2 separate regions of the Homo sapiens genome follow, and region 1 is linked to region 2. Evidence: promoter capture Hi-C in human tissues and cell types (Jung and others, 2019). All regions are on one chromosome and are shown on one strand. The core of a region is centred on a gene start or on the middle of the fragment in contact, and the rest is flanking DNA. Distances in the headings are between cores, read along the strand shown.

Region 1 (7,848 bases), core at 1,665-4,164, 64 kb after region 2:
TGGTCTCCTGCCTCTGCCTCCTGCCCCAGGCCATGCCAACCAGCCGGGTGGCATTTCTGAGGCTCCATGGGCACCCGGTTTCCCCACAGAATGGGTCAGGCCAAGGAGGTCCAAGAAGAGGAGGATGGCCTCGTGGGAGCCCTGCCCCCAAGACCCCAAATGACATACATTCCAGTCTGTCCCTGGACGTGCGTGCGTGGAGGTCATGCAGCACGATGGGGGAGGGGCGGGAGTGGGGCTGCAGTCCCCAGCCCCCTGCCTGCGGGGGCGGCTGTTGCATGAGGGGTGGGCCTCTGGAGGCGCGGGATGAGTGTGCTGCCGGGTGGCCCTGGGTGCATGCAGGGGCTCAGGATGCAGCCTCGTCTTCCTGGACGCCGGGGAGCTCTGGGCTCTTGCCCCCTTCACCAAACCCTTCTTTCCTGTTCAGGGGACACCAGGGACAGAGGGACCTCAGGGTCAGAATATGCACTCAGGGAGACACTCTCCCTCACACACACAGGAATCTGAATCCCACATCTCTCAAAGCCCCCTTCACCCACTGCCCCAAGCTTGGCCTCCCTCTGGCCTCCCTACATCACGGCAGTTGCTCCTTGCCGGTCTCTCAGCCCCCAGTCTCAGCCCGCAACGCCTCCGTGGCCCCCCATTGACCAGAGATGAAGTCTAAACCTCCCAGCACGGCCTCTGGAGCTGCTCACAGTCTGACCCAGCTGACTTCCCTACATCCTCCAACTATCAGCCTAATCAAGGGCCTTCTCTCTGTGTGTGTGGTTTTGTTGTTGTTTTGAGACAGCGTCTCGCTCTGTCGTGCAGGCTGCAGTGCAGTGGTGCAATCTCAGCTCATTGCAACCTCTGCCTTCCAGGCTCAAGCGATCCTCCCACCTCAGCCTCCTGAGTAGCTGAGACTACAGGCACATGCCACCACGCCCAGCTAATTTTTGTATTTTTTTATCTCTATAAAAACAGGGTTTCACCATGTTGCCCAGGCTGGTCTCAAACTCCTGGGCTCAAGCGATCCATCCACCTCAGCCTCCTAAAGTGTTGGGATTGCAGGCGTGAGCCACCGTGCCCGGCCTGAGGGCCTTCTGTGTTGACCTCAGTCATCCCCCAGCAGATCTGGGTAGAGAGGCTTTCATTTTGCATTTTTCTTTGCCTTGTTCACAGGGCAGAGTCCATCTATCAGTCTTGGGATTCTGTCACATATTCAACAGATTTCTATATCTAGTTTTCCTCCCAAAATGTCTCTTTTTAAAATAACCAGTAAATGGGTTTTGATATCTTTAAAAAGGACCAACTCCACTTAACTCTACTACTGAGTTTCTACAATTATCCCAAAGTATAAAAAACTCTATGGCCGGGCACAGTGGCTCACGCCTGTAATCCCAGCACTTTGGGAGGCTGAGGTGGGCAGATTACCTGAGGTCAGGAGTTTGAGACCAGCCTGGCCAAAATGGTGAAATCCCGTCTCTAATAAAAATACAAAAATTAGCCGGTGTGGTGGTGGCATGCACCTGTAATCCCAGCTACTTGGGAGGCTGAGGCAAGAGAACTGCTTGAATGTGAGAGGCGGAGACTGCAGTGAGTTGAGTTTGCGCCACTGCACTCCAGCCTGGGCAACAAGAGTGAAACTCCATCTCAAAACAAACAAACAAAAAACCAAAGCAGTCTATCAAGGATAAATATTGGGACTTGATGATGAAGTAAAATCTTCTTTCAAAGTTAAACGTGGAGGCTGGGTGTGGTGGCTCATGCCTGTAATCACCTGGCACTTTCGGAGGCCAAGGTGGGCAAATGGCTTGAGGCCAGGAGTTTAAGTCCAGCCTGGGCAACATGGCAAGACTCCATCTCTATTTTTTTTTTAAAAAGCTCTACCCCAAATTAAACTTGGGTCACAGAATTCTAGAATTTTATAGCTGGAAAGTATTAAGCCCAATCTTGTCACTCTGTTTGCCAGGTACAAACTAGACACTAAATGTATCCTTATCCTGTGTCTGGCTTGTTCCACCACTAGGGGGTGCTGGACCACAGGCTCTGAGTCAGAAGGACCAGGTGTCCGTCCACCTGCTGTCCTGGCATAATTATTATTACTTTTTTTTCTTTTTTTTTTTTGAGACAGGGTCTGGCTCTGTCACCCAGGCTGGAGTACAGTGGTGCAATCTCAGCTCACTGCAACCTCCACCTCCCAGACTCAAGCAATCCTCCCACCTCAGCCTCCTGAGTTGCTGGGACTACAGGCACCCACCACCACGCCCGGCTAATTTTTTTTTTTTTTAGAGATGGGGTCTTGCTATGTTGCCCAGGCTGGTCTTGAACTCCTGGCCTCAAGCAATCCTGCCTTGGCCTCCCAAAGTGCTGGGATTATAGGCATGAGCCACCATGCTGGCATAATAATTATTATTTTTTGAGACGGAGTCTCACTCTGTCGCCCAGGCTGGAGTGCAGTGGCGTGACCTTGGCTCACTGCAAGCTCTGCCTCCCGGGTTCACGCCATTCTCCTGCCTCAGCCTCCTGAGTAGCTGGGACTCCAGGTGCCCGCCACCACGCCCAGCTGATTTTTTGTATTTTTAGTAGAGACGGGGTTTCACCGTGTTAGCCAGGATGGTCTCGATCTCCTGACCCTGTGATCCACCCGCCTCGGCCTCCCAAAGTGCTGGGATTACAGGCGTGAGCCACCGCACCCGGCCGTGCTGGCATAATTATTAATGGCTTCCCCTTTCACTCTCAAAAATGTCCCCATTTGGACGTCAAATTATATATGCCCCCTCTCCCCCTACACTAAGCACAATTCCAGCATCAGGGGCCTACATTCCTGGATGAGCTCAGAGAATCCTCCCCCAACCGCAACCACCTCCCTGAAGAGATGACAGAAAAGCTGCAGTTGGGACCTCCAGGCCTCTCCCAGGCCCCCCACCTCATTATGAGGCTCTCCCTGGGTGCAAGCCACCTCCAGCAGGGAGCAGATGTCAGCTTGTCCACTACGAGGGGTCCCGACCCTTCTGAAGGGCCCTCTTATGAGAGGGAGGCCTCACGGGAAACCAACATGGTGGTCCCGGACAGGCCTGGTGACAGCGTGAAGCCAAGGCACCCGGACAGCGCCTGGCACTCACCCCTCTGGGGAGTGCGCCTTCCACACAGAGCAGGCCAGGGTGGGGCAAACAACTCCCACCAGCCCCTTCCCCAAAGCTTCCCTCCGGGGCCAGAGGAAGGCAGTGGCTGTCCCAGGACCACGCTGTGGTTCAGGACCCCACTGGTTTTCTCTCTGCAGGTTTGTGTACAAACTCCAGCACAGGCCTTATTAGCATCCCAGACTGGCTTTTATTATAGTGAAGAAGGTGGATCTGCTGAGGACGAGGCGCACAGGCTTGGGGAGCTGCTTTTCTGGACCCTCCTAGGAGGTGGTGAACCCACAGGCGTGGCTCACCATAGGGAGCCCTCGGCCAATGCGGGTTCCTCTCCCGTGGTCCACCGGCCAGCCTGTCCCTGCTTACTCACTGAACAAGCACTCACAAAGTGCTGACTGGGCACAGAGCCCCAGCAATGGCTGCAGGCAGCCTGGGCCACTTGGGAGAGCAGCCAACAGTCCCCAGGGCCAGGCAGAGGGGCCAGCACCCCTCCTCTACAGCCCGCCAGCCTCCTACAGGAAGCCAACATCAGCCTGTCTGCAAACCTCTGCCAGGCTGCCAAGGGCTGAGGGGGCCACAGATTTGAAGCCCCAGAGGGGCTGGACCCAGTGAGAGAGTGACATCAAGCTGCATGGAAGAAGGGTCTTCCTGTCCCATGGAGGGGCTGCGTGAGCTCCTCATCCCTGGAAGTGTGTGTGTGAGGGATGCTGGCCCCAGGAATGAAGCAAGAGCTGGGCCCAAAAGGTCCCTTCTAGCCCCGACTAACCTTGGGGACAGAGATGCAAATGGGGCCAACACCGAGACCTGGCCAAGTCCCCAGGCTCTGGCCTTGGCCCAACGACAGTGAGAGTGGGAGGATGGGCCTCAGACCTCCCCACCCAACTCCAGGGAGTGCCCGGCAGTCCCTGGCCCACCAGTACTTACACCAGTAGGTTTCCTGGAGCAGACATGGATCGCTCTTCCCTCCGTGCTTGGGGCTCAAACGGGTTCCCAAAGGAACGCTTCCTCAGCATGGACTTCACCAGGATCTGAGGAGGACAAGGCAGCGTGAGGAGCACAGGTCCCAGGCTCCCAGACACGCAGCCTCTGCTCCGATTCCCCGAGAGCAGCTGCCAAGGGGGCCGCAGTGCGGGTCCCATCTCAATCAGCACAGCATGAAATGGCAGAGGCAAGAACACGGGGCGCTGGCAGCTGGGGGCATATTCCTGGAATGGTGAGGAGCCGGATGCCACTGGTACATGAGGAGGGGGCCGGGACCAGCCCATGAAGGGTCCGCAAGGCCAGGCTGAAAGAGTGGGGAGGGCCAGGGCTGGAAGTGGGAGTCCATTAGAAGATACCTTCTCGCTACGGCAGCAATGCCATGGAGGGATGCTGTGCCATCCTTCCCGCCTTCCGGCCGCCGAGAAGATGCCAAGATGCTACTGCAGGGCGGCCCGGGAAGCGGCTGAGCCGCAGCCGGTGGCCCAGTCAGTGGGGCTGCCAGGAGGGGAACAGCTGCCGCAGCCTGGCTCTCTGCCTTTGTCCCTCCTCCGTGACAAGGACGGTTCCATGCCGTGCCCACAGACACGCCGACTCACACGCATGCAGAGAGGCAGCGGCACACTTGCCAGTCCCTTCACTCCCTCGCTTGTGTCCATCCATCCCGTCAACACTGGTCACCACTGGCTGCCTACTGGGTGCTGGCCACTACTCTAGGCCCTGGGGCCACACTGAGGCCAGAATTCCTGCCCTCATATAGCCTTTTTTTTTTTTCAGACGGAGTTTTGCTCTTGTTGCCCAGGGCTGGAGTGCAGTGGCACAATCTCGGCTCACTGCAACCTCTGCCTCCCCGCTTCAAATGATCCTTCCGCCTCAGTCTCCTGAATAGCTGGGATTACAGGCGTCCACCACCACACCCGGCTAATTTTTTGTATTTTTAGAAGAGACGGGGCTTCAGCATGTTGGCCAGGCTGGTCTCAAACTCCTGACCTCAAGTGATCCTCCCGCCTTGGCCTCCCAAAGTGCTGGGATTACAGGCGTGAGCCACTGCGCCCAGCCATCATACAGCTTATATTCTAGTTGGGGGAGACAGGCGATAAGTAAAGAAGAAAAATCAGTAAATTATGTATGTCAGTAAGTGGAAAGGAAAAAATAAAACAAGGGAATGGCGATGAGGTGTGAAGCAGGGGAGGCTGAAGCTACAGGGTCAGGGAAGGCTCGCTTCTCTCTAGGAGGGGACCCTGGCGTAAAAAGCCGAAGGAAGTGAGGGAGCGAGTCCCGTGGCCATCGGGGGTGGGACTCCCCGGGCAGAGGGAAGCGAAGTCTGAAGGCTCTGGGGCAGCCCCTTCCATGGCACGTGGCCAGAGACGAGTGCATGATGGCGGGACGGTGCACGAGCCCCGCAGAAAAACAGGGCGGGTGGTGGGGCACAGGCTGGAGGTCTGATTCTGAGGGACACAGCAGCCCGAGTGAGAAGCAGGCTCTGAGCTGGGAGGTGACACACTCATGCCACTGGGACCATGCTGGGTGCTGAGTTGAGCATTGACCAGGGGGACAGGGAGTGAGAGTAGAAGCAAGGGACAGCGTGGGAGGTTGTTCCAGTGGTCTGAGAGAGAGGAGATGGTGGCTAAGATCAGGCAAGTGGTCATGGGGACCCCGTGGGAGTTGCCTGGTTCCAGCGACCCCACAGAGTCAAGTAAGCATAGGGGGCAGGGATTGAGCCAGCTGGTCCCAGCTGGGCCGGGACCCTGCAGAGGGGGATAAAGTGCAAGGCCAGGCCCCGCCAACGGCAGTGGCCCTGGCTCTCCTCCTGGCCTTGTGCTTGCCCTGACTCACTTGACTGTCAGGCAGGGGCAGGGCAGGGCTCTCAGTGGCCCCAGGTGGCCACGGGGGACTATGTGAATCACTTCCAAGTGCCAACACAGAAGCTGAGCAGAGGAAGAGGAGCAAAACCGAAATGTGAGCGGGCACTAGGGGAGACACAGGCACTGTCTAATGGATACGCAGGATCTGGGGGAGATGCAGGCACCGTCTAACTGATACGCGGGCTCTGGGGGAGAAGCAGGCGCCGTCTAACTGATACACAGGATCTGGGGGAGAAGCAGGCGCAGTCTAACTGATACGTGGGCTCTGGGGGAGAAGCAGGCGCCGTCTAACTGATACGTGGGCTCTGGGGGAGAAGCAGGCGCCGTCTAACTGATACGTGGGCTCTGGGGGAGAAGCAGGCGCCGTCTAACTGATACGTGGGCTCTGGGGGAGAAGCAGGCGCCGTCTAACTGATACGTGGGCTCTGGGGGAGAAGCAGGCGCCGTCTAACTGATACGTGGGCACGGGGGAGATGCAGGCACCGTCTAACTGATACACAGGATCTGGGGGAGACGCAGGCACTGCCTGATTGATACGCGGGCGCTGGGGGAGACGCAGGCCCATCTAACTGATATGTGGGCTCTGGGGGAGACACAGGTGCTGCCTAACTGATACGTGGGCTCTGGGGGAGACGCAGGCGCCGCCTAACTGATACGTGGGCTTTGGGGCCACTCCTCCAATCCAAAGGCTGCCCAGGCCGTTCCCCTGCCTTGTCCTCGGCACCTTGTGCAGTGCCTGGAGAACGGAAGCTCAGTAACTGTCTGGACGGAATGAAATGCTTCTTCCAGTCACGGTGACTGCTGCCGCTGAGCAAGGGCCATCTATTTCTTTCTTTTTTTTTTTGAGATGGAGTCTCGTTCTGTCAACCAGGCTGGAGTGCAATGGCGTGATCTTGGCTCACTACAACCTCCACCTCCCAGGTTCAAGCGATTCTCCTGCCTCGGCCTCCCCAGTAGCTGGGACTACAGGTGCCCACCACTGCGCCCGGCTAATTTTTTTGTATTTTTAGTAGAGGTGGGGTTTCGCCGTATTAGCCAGGATGGTCTCGATCTCCTGACCTCGTGATCCACCCGCCTCGGCCTCCCAAAGTGCTGGGATTCCAGGCGTGAGCCACCGCGCCCGGTATTTCTTTCTTTTCTTTTCTTCTTTTTTTTTTTTTGAGACGCAGTCTCGCTCTGTGGCCCAGGCTGGAGTGCAGTGGCGCGATCTCGGCTCACGGCAAACTCCACCTCCCGGGTTCACACCATTCTCCTGCCTCAGCCTCCCGAGTAGCTGGGACTACACGCGCCCGCCACCACGCCCAGCTAATTTTCTATATTTTTAGTAGAGTCGGGGTTTCAAGGATGGTCTCGATCTCCTGACCTCGTGATCTGCCCGCCTTGGCCTCCCAAAGTGCTGGGATTACAGGCGTGAGCCACCGCGCCCGGCCCCACGCCCGCTATTTCTTTAAATCAGTCACTCTCCTCACCAAGCCTCCTGGTCTCCCGACCACAAGACCTCCCTCTCCATGGGCCTCCAGCAGAATGGCGGCTCCAGTGGCCCAGGATCACAGCTGGCTGGCCAGGCAGGCCTCTGTCCCCCCAAGGAGCCAGGCACAGAGCAAGGCTCAGGTCCCCCAGGCCCTCCAGGACAAGGGAGCATCTACCCCGGCTCTCTTACCACCGTGGTCCAGCTGGGGATGAGCCTGACTGAGTTCTTAACCTCCTCCTCTGTCACCTCCACCACGCTGCAGTGCTCCTCCTCCGAAGGAAGGGGCTCCTCCCCGTTCTTGGTCACCCAAGGGTGCAACTGTCGGGGCCGGGAGGGCAGGGAGAGGGGGAGAGGTCAGGCCATTACCAGAATCACCTGGAGGGGTCCAAAGTCCACAGACTCAAACCCAACACAC
Region 2 (7,672 bases), core at 763-3,262:
TCAACGCCACCTCACCTCCTCCAGGAAACTCTCCTGGACTGGCCCATCCTAGTCTCAGGACCTCACAGCATGGAGCAGAACTGCAGCAGCCTCGTTTCCGCCACCCACACCGGAGCTGCGGGGGCCCTGCTCTGGTCCCCTTCCCGTGGCTGAGCTGAGCTGTGGGCTAAGTGGTCTCATGGCAAGTCTGCTCCATCATCGCTCTCTGCTGCCCATCAGCTTGGGAAGGGCCTAGGCCTCAAAAGAGGTTTGATCGATGCCACCTGCTGGAAAAGGCACTGAGGTGATGGGTGGTGGTCTCAGAGGCTAAAGGAGACAGATGAGCCACAGGAGTATTCTGGAGCTGGGAGGCAGGACAGAGGCCTGGGCTTGAGCCTCGTGTCTATTATCAGTTGCTTGCAAGCCTGGGTAGTCACTGCCCGCTCTGTGCCCCAGTCACCTCCTCTGTACTGGGAGAGGGTAGACAAGAGTCTAGTCTAAGCATCTGCTCCAGATATTCTTGGTAATGGGAGATCAAAGCCACAAGCCATAAAAAGAGTGAGACTCTCTCCACACCCCACATGTAACTAAAAACAGAGAAGTCTAAATTGTAAAATAAAAGGAAGTTCAACAAACTGTTGACCTTTCCATGGTGACTATTCTGATGTTTTTGAAATATAAAATATTAGGCCGGGCAAGGTGGCTCATGCCTGTAGTCCCAACACTTTGGGAGGCCGAGGCAGGTCGATCACCTGAGGGCAGGAGACCAGCCTGACCAATATGGTGAGACCCTGTCTCTACTAAAAATACAAAAATTAGCCAGGCGTGGTGGCAGGCGCCTGTAATCCCAGCTACTCGGGAGGCTGAGGCAGGAGAACTGCTTGAACCTGGGAGGCAGAAGTTATGGTGAGCCAAGATCCAGCCTGGGCTCCAGCCTGGGCAGCAGAGCAAGACTCTGTCTCAAAAAATAAAATAAAATAAAATGAAATATAAAATATTAAAATCTGTCCAAAAACGTGTTCCTTGCTGGTACCCTACACATTGTGGCCTGCTTCCTGGGTGATCTGGCCCCAGGTGGGATGCTAATCCCAAGTCCCCTCCCAGCACAGCCTCAGCCCATCTTTCAGGGAGAACTCAGCTACCAGGAGCCTTTCATCCACATAAGCTTGATGCCCATCCAATTCTCCGGCCAACCTCCTGAGCAGGGGCAGGAGACCCATGGGAAGTCTGCTCAGATCACTAGGCAGGACCACCCTGGCCTCCGGCTTAATCTTAGCAGCCTCCAGGGGCTCACCTGACCGTGCTGTCTCATCACAGGGGGCCCCCGAAAGGACTCATGGCTTGGCTTGCCCAGAGGCTTCCATGGGACAGTTAAAGGCTAAAATGGGACCCCCCAGGCAGCAGAAGTGCCTCCCCCCACCCCACATTCCAGTTTTTACCCTGGGCCTGACAACACAGGAAGCAGGCTCCCTGCCAACACTCACACCCTCTACCATACAGACACTTGCCCCCAGTCTCTGGTCAACACTCTCTCACAGGGTCCTCACCCTCATCAGCCCAACCCCTGCTCTGTAACAGAAGGGAGCTCTGCCAGGCGGAGCCTCCACACTCAGAGAACAAACTACAGAGTCAAGGACCTGCCCCAAGTGGGTGCCATGGGGAGAGGGCCTCGGTGGCGGGGGGAGGCTGGCTGGAGGAGGAACAGAATGGCAGAGCCCTGGAGTCCAAAGGCCCTGGCTGACAGAACTGGCAACACGAAGCCTCAGCCGCCCTTCCCAACAAGCCTGGGGCCCTGACCCACCGAGCAAGACTCCTTTCCTGGAGGAGCTGCCACTCTCTAACCTCTGGCTCTAACTGAGCCCCATCAGAGACAGACAGTCAAGGCTGTAGTCTGCAGACACCTGGCTGGAGCTGAGGGCACAGCAGCCCCTCGAAGCAGCGGGTGAGAGGACTTACTGGCTATGCAGAGCAGAGTGTGGAAGAGCCACATCCTTGCTGGAGCAGAGGCGGCTGTGTGGGAGCCGAGGCGAGTGCGACACATGGGCCGTGGCCCACTCAGCTTCCCCTCAGCCAGGAGGCCAGGAGGCGGGGACAGAAGCACACACACCAGCAAGGACCCACAGACCGGCACTTTCAACCAAACAGAGACACTCCGGCTCGTACACAACCAGCCGTGTGGCTTCCTCAGTTGTGGGCTGGACCCTAGGAGCTTAGGGGCCACTGTCAGCCCCACTCTACCACCCACACTTTGACCCACACTTTCATGGAATAGGGAGCTGAGGTTTGGCCAGGGCCACAGTTCTAGGTGTCCTCAGCAGATGCTGGAGGTGCAGGAGCAACGTGAATCCAGCCTGCCGTTCGTATCATCCATTTGAGTCGGTCCCCTGTCCTGCCTCAGAACCTACCACCAGACATCTCAGCCCAGCTTCCAGCCCAGGGTCCTCGGTGGTGGTTGCCTCAGCACTGAGACAGGCGTCCCCCTCCCATAGGAAGTGCCTCCCCAGCCAAAAACTGGGCTCTTGTACCAGCCCATGCACTCAAGGCCCTGGGGTTCTGGAGGGCCAGGTGAGTGGAAAGACCCAACGCACTGAGTGAAATCACTGCCTCGATTCAACTTCGGCTGCGTTCATTCTCTTTAAAACCAGGACAGCAACCTGACGTGGAAACTGACTGAACAGGACTCTGAGTTACCAGAATAACAGAAGTAAAATTCTATACATCTTCCAGCATACCTGTGATGCATCCCAGCATTCCACAGAACACGCCGTTGACAGCTGGCAGTCGTGTTTAAGTGCTGATCTGAGATCTGTACTGTGTGACCAAGTCTGTGACACAGAAGGAACTCTCCTGCACCCCTGCTCCCCAGGCTGCTGGAAGTGCAGAGTGGCGCCGTCAAACAGAACTCTGCGCGGGGATGGAACTGCTCTAGGTCGACGCTGTCCAGGATGGTACTCATGAGCCACATATGGTACTAAACCCTTAAAATGCCACTAGAACAACTGATGAACTGAATTTTGTATATTTTATTTAATTTTAATTAAACGTAAAAAGGCAGGACATTCCAAGGCTCTCTAACACGAGTGTCTGCAGCCCCATTCGCTTTGAGATGTGAATGTGTTAACCCAGGGTGGACAATGGTGTTGACTTCATTACTAGATAAAAATCCATGTTATTTTGTTTCTCGCATTGAAAGGCTGCTTGGCTAAGGTTCTGTGAAGATCCGATGACATTTCCAACACTTTGCCTTGTCTGCTTTGCTCTGACAAAGTGCTTATGACTACTAGATCTTGCTCGGTTATGTGAGATTACAATTCACCGGTTTCCATCCTGTATGAAACAGAAGTTAAACAGTTGTAAAAGCAAAATTCCAGGTCTGGTGGTTTTCCTGCCAGGTCATGATGAAACCATCCTACTTCTGTTGAACCTCGTCCCAGGCAGGATCGGGGCCTGCGGCCTACAGCCTGTCTTCCCAGCGCTCCAGGGCTCGTGACCCTCCTCCTCCCCTCACTTCATTCTGCGCTCCAAGGGCACTGGGGAGAGTCACAGTGGTCTCCTCTCCCCCGCATTGGCCTAAAGCAGGAAGAGAGCAGCCCAGTCACTGAGCAGATCCCTGCTAGGGCAGGGCTAGAACCCAGACTGCAGCTCACTCGAGATTCCTGAGAGAAGACTTTGTGTTTGGAGTGTGAACGTCAGGGTGCCTCGGGAAGCCAGGGAAAGCTGATGACTGGGTGCTGGACAGGGAGCAGGGCCACTTCTGTACCTCTGCACACTTCTAGAATGCGGACTCATCCTGCATCCATCCAGTATGTATTTATCCAAGCGTCAGTGCCTCTAGTCATGAGACACACAGGGGTCCGTAAAGCCCACCTGGCGGTAGCTGCTTTCCCCACAAACCCAAACTACATCCCCAAGGTCAGGGCCAGGCTCTGTTGAGTAATGCTCCCCATCACAGCACGCAGCACAAGGCTGGCTGTTTGACAAATACACACATAACCAAAAGACATGTGAATGTGGTTTCCCAACTCACTTTAAACAAATATTCCGGGACCAACTTCAAGGACGTTCTACAACAGAAACTGGACTGTACTCTTCACAAACATCAATGTCATGAAAGACAGAAAGGCTGAGGACCTGCTCCAAACGAAAGGAGGCTGCAGAGAGGACAACTAAAGGCAGCGCTTGATCCTGGATTGGATCCTGGACCAGAAAAACAACGGCTTTCAAAATCATTATTGGGACAGTTGGCAAATTTGAAACAGGAACTACAAATTAGCAACTCCTGGGCTGATCAGAGAATATTACACATTTCCTGAATTTGAGAACTGTACCATGGGCATGTGAGAGGCTGTCCCTGTTCTTGGGAAATGTTCACTAAAACATCTTACGGATAAACGAGCATGATGTATACAAATAATCCTCAAATGGTTCATGGTTCAGAGAGGATAGGAAGAAACAGGGGTGAGGGAGAAGAGGAGGGAACGAATGAAAGAGAAAATGTGGCAAAATGTTCTTTGTTGTACCCTTCAAACTGCTGTGATTTTGAAATTATTTCAAAATAAAGTTTTAAATATTTTAAAAAATTTTTTTCTTTCTCCCCTTGATACCAGGAAGAATAAAGTTTTTAAAAAATGGGCAGGTGGGCCAGGCGCGGTGGCTCACGCCTGTAATCCCAGCACTTTGGGAGGCCGAGGCGGGCGGATCACAAAGTCAGGAGATCGAGACCATCCTGGCTAACACGGTGAAACCCGGTCTCTACTAAAAATACAAAAAAAATTAGCCAGGCGTGGTGGCGGGTGCCTGTAGTCCCAGCTACTCAGGAGGGTGAGGCAGGAGAATGGCGTGAACCCAGGAGGCGGAGCTCGCAGTGGGCGGAGATCATGCCACTGCACTCCACTTGGGTGACAGAGCGAGACTCCGTCTCAGAAAAAGTGGCCAGGTGCACTTGTAGTCACAGTTACTTAAGAGGTTCAAGCTACTTGGGAAAGCTTGAGCCCAGGAGTTTGAGTCCAATCTAGACAACATAGTATGAACCTGTCTCTTTAAAAAAAAGTTGCAAAATGTTCATGGATGGAGGAGACGTGCTCGGCGTGAGGTGAAAGGGCTGCCTGTGGGTCGGGCGTGGTAGCTGACACCTGTAATCCCAGCACTTTGGGAAGCCGAGGTAGGCGGATCGCCTGAGTTCAGGAGTTTGAGACCAGCCTGGGCAACATGGTGAAACCCTGTCTTTACTAAAAACACAAAAAATTAGCCAGGCGTGGCAGCGTGTGCCTGTAGCCCCAGCTTCGGGAGGCTATGGTGGGAGAATTGCTTGAACCTGGGAGGCGGAGGGTGCAGTGAGCCGAGACTGCGCCATTGCACTCCAGCCTGGGCGACAAGAGCAAGACTTCATCTCCAAAAAAAACAGAAAGGGCTGCCTGCTGTCTTCAGAGTGAGTCAAAAGCACTGAGGCACAGCCTTCAGACACAGGAAATGGTTCTATTCTCCCACTTGCCTTCTGACTCTTAGGAAGCCAGAAAGAGTGACGGCATTGCTGAGACCAGAGCCCAGGGCTGCAGAGCAGTGGTACTCACGACCTTTGAACACTCGGTAGGAGTGCCCTGCTCAGTGCCAAGGCCTCACATGCGAGCCCTCATCTGAGCCTCTCAGCCACCTACAAGGTCAACCCGATTTCTCAGATAAGGATGCTGCCTCTGAGAGGCCACATAGCTAGTAAGGAGCAGAGCTGGGACTCCAAACAGGCCTGTTTCCTCCAGAATCAGGACTCTGAACCACCACAAACTCTCCTGCCTTCAGCTCTTTTGGTGTGTAGACTTTTTTTATTTTTGTTTTTGAGATGGAGTCTTGCTCTTTCATCCAGACTGGAGTGCAGTGGCACAATCTCAGCTTACTGCAACCTCTGCCTCCTGGGTTCAAGCGATTCTCCTGCCTCAGCCTCCCGAGTAGCTGGGACTACAGGTGCCCGCCACCACACCCGGCTAATTTTTGTATTTTTAGTAGAGACGGGGTTTCACCATGTTGGCCAGGCTGGTCTCGAACTCCTGACATCAGGTGATCCCCGCCTCGGCCTCCCAAAGTGCTGAGACTACAGGTGTGAGCCACGTGCCCAGCTAGGTGGTGTGTAAACTTTAAAAAAGCAGAGATTTCATCCCACAAATGCAGACTGGGATCTCCACATGACCAGGTGCTGTGGACTGAACTGTAAATGTCCTCCAAATTCATATGTTGAAGCCCTAACCCCCAATGTGGCTCTTCTTGGACATATGGCTTTTAGGAAGTAATTAAGGTTAGATGAGGTCATAATCCAGCAAGATTGGTGGCCTTACAAGAGCCATGTGCAGGCACCAAGAAAAGCCTACGTGAATAAGACAGCAAGAGGGTGCTCACCATGTTGGCATCCTCCGGCCTCAGATCTGTGGGGGACTGCGGGGGTGATGGGACAGGGAGAGAACAAGGAGTGGATTTTCTTGTCCTTTCTAAGGAAGGGGCTGGGAGGGCGAGGGCTGCACTGGGTGCTGGGACCAAGGGTCCAGGGGCTTGGATCTCTTGTTTACAAACCCCTACTTCTTTCCTGCTATCTAGCCCACACCCCTGATGCTCCCCGGAAAGGAGAGCAAGGATCCTTGAACACGCGTTAGCACTAGAAGGAAACTGGAGCTCACCCCAGTTGAGCCCTCCATTTGACAGACAGGGAAGCTGAGGCCCAGGGAGGTGAGGGGACTTGCTCAGTCTTTCCAATTGAGTATGTGGGGCAGAAGGAGTCCCCAGAGCCCCGGCCCCAGCCACCATCCTATTTGACTTTCCCCAACAGGCATTCTACCTCAGCTAAAGATGCTGCCTGCCTCTCACAGGCCCTGAGGAGAAGATGGCCACATCACAGGATCGAACACTACCACAAAACTCCTAGGAAGGGACAGGAAGGTGAGAATCCTTTCTTTTTTTTTTGAGACGGAGTCTCGCTCTGTCGCCCAGGCTGGAGCGCAGTGGCGCGATCTCACCTCACTGCAACCTCTGCCTCCCGGGTTCAAGTAATTCTCCTGTCTCAGCCTCCCAAGTAGCTGGGACTACAGGTACCCACCACCACGCCCAGCTAATTTTTGTATTTCTAGTAGAGACGGGGTTCCAACATGTTGGCCAGGCTGCTCTTGAACTCCTGACCTCAGGTGATCCACCCGCCTCGGCCTCCCAAAGTGCTGGGATTACAGGCGTGAGCCACCAAGCCCGGCCTGAGAATTCTCTTCTGTCAATGGTGTGGGCCTCTCGACCTCACTAACCTATATTGGCCCAGAGGTGATGGTGACAATTTGAGATAACACAAAGTCTCAACTATTTACGAACCTGGTCATCCAGAGAGGGCCCCGGAATTGCTCAAATGAACAGTAAGAATCCTGAGGCAGGGTACTGACCTTGGTAGGTGAAATACCGCCTATACTCTCAAGTTTTATGGATAGTGCAGCCAAATTCCACTCGGATGCCTCACAACTACTTAAAATTGGCTTTTTGAAGCAGCATTTCCCTAACTACTCCCAGGAACAAAGTTCTGTGAAATGTTCATAGAGCTTCATTGAAAAAAAAAAAAAAAAAAAAGCTACAATATTTTTCTTCTAAGATTTATTTTATAAACATGTAAGAAAAGTTGTAGATATTTATTGTGGGTCTGGTTATGCAAGAACAATCTTCCTGGACACAGTGTGCG

What was found. Contacts are between HindIII fragments. The study calls those that stand out against the background at their distance.
Region 1: a fragment that was not itself captured here is called in contact with the fragment with the promoter of ITGAE in region 2 in 1 of the 25 tissues and cell types used here (aorta).

The regions. Positions count from the first base shown.
Region 1 is chr17:3,861,865-3,869,712 of GRCh38, forward strand. It overlaps CAMKK1 (calcium/calmodulin dependent protein kinase kinase 1), which reads right to left. Exons shown (of 16, transcript NM_032294.3): 14 at 7,623-7,751; 15 at 4,044-4,147; 16 at 1-419. The coding sequence ends at 347. Among named protein-coding and RNA genes, the nearest start is that of NCBP3, 20 kb to the left of the region's middle. RefSeq lists enhancers at 5,931-6,432, 6,433-6,932. The HindIII fragment of the contact is 6,509 bases long and covers 1-6,169 here.
Region 2 is chr17:3,799,176-3,806,847 of GRCh38, forward strand. It overlaps ITGAE (integrin subunit alpha E), which reads right to left and starts at 2,013. Exons shown (of 31, transcript NM_002208.5): 1 at 1,936-2,013. The coding sequence starts at 1,969. NCBP3 (nuclear cap binding subunit 3) reads right to left here. Exons shown (of 13, transcript NM_001114118.3): 13 at 2,983-7,672. The HindIII fragment of the contact is 9,203 bases long and covers 1-6,565 here.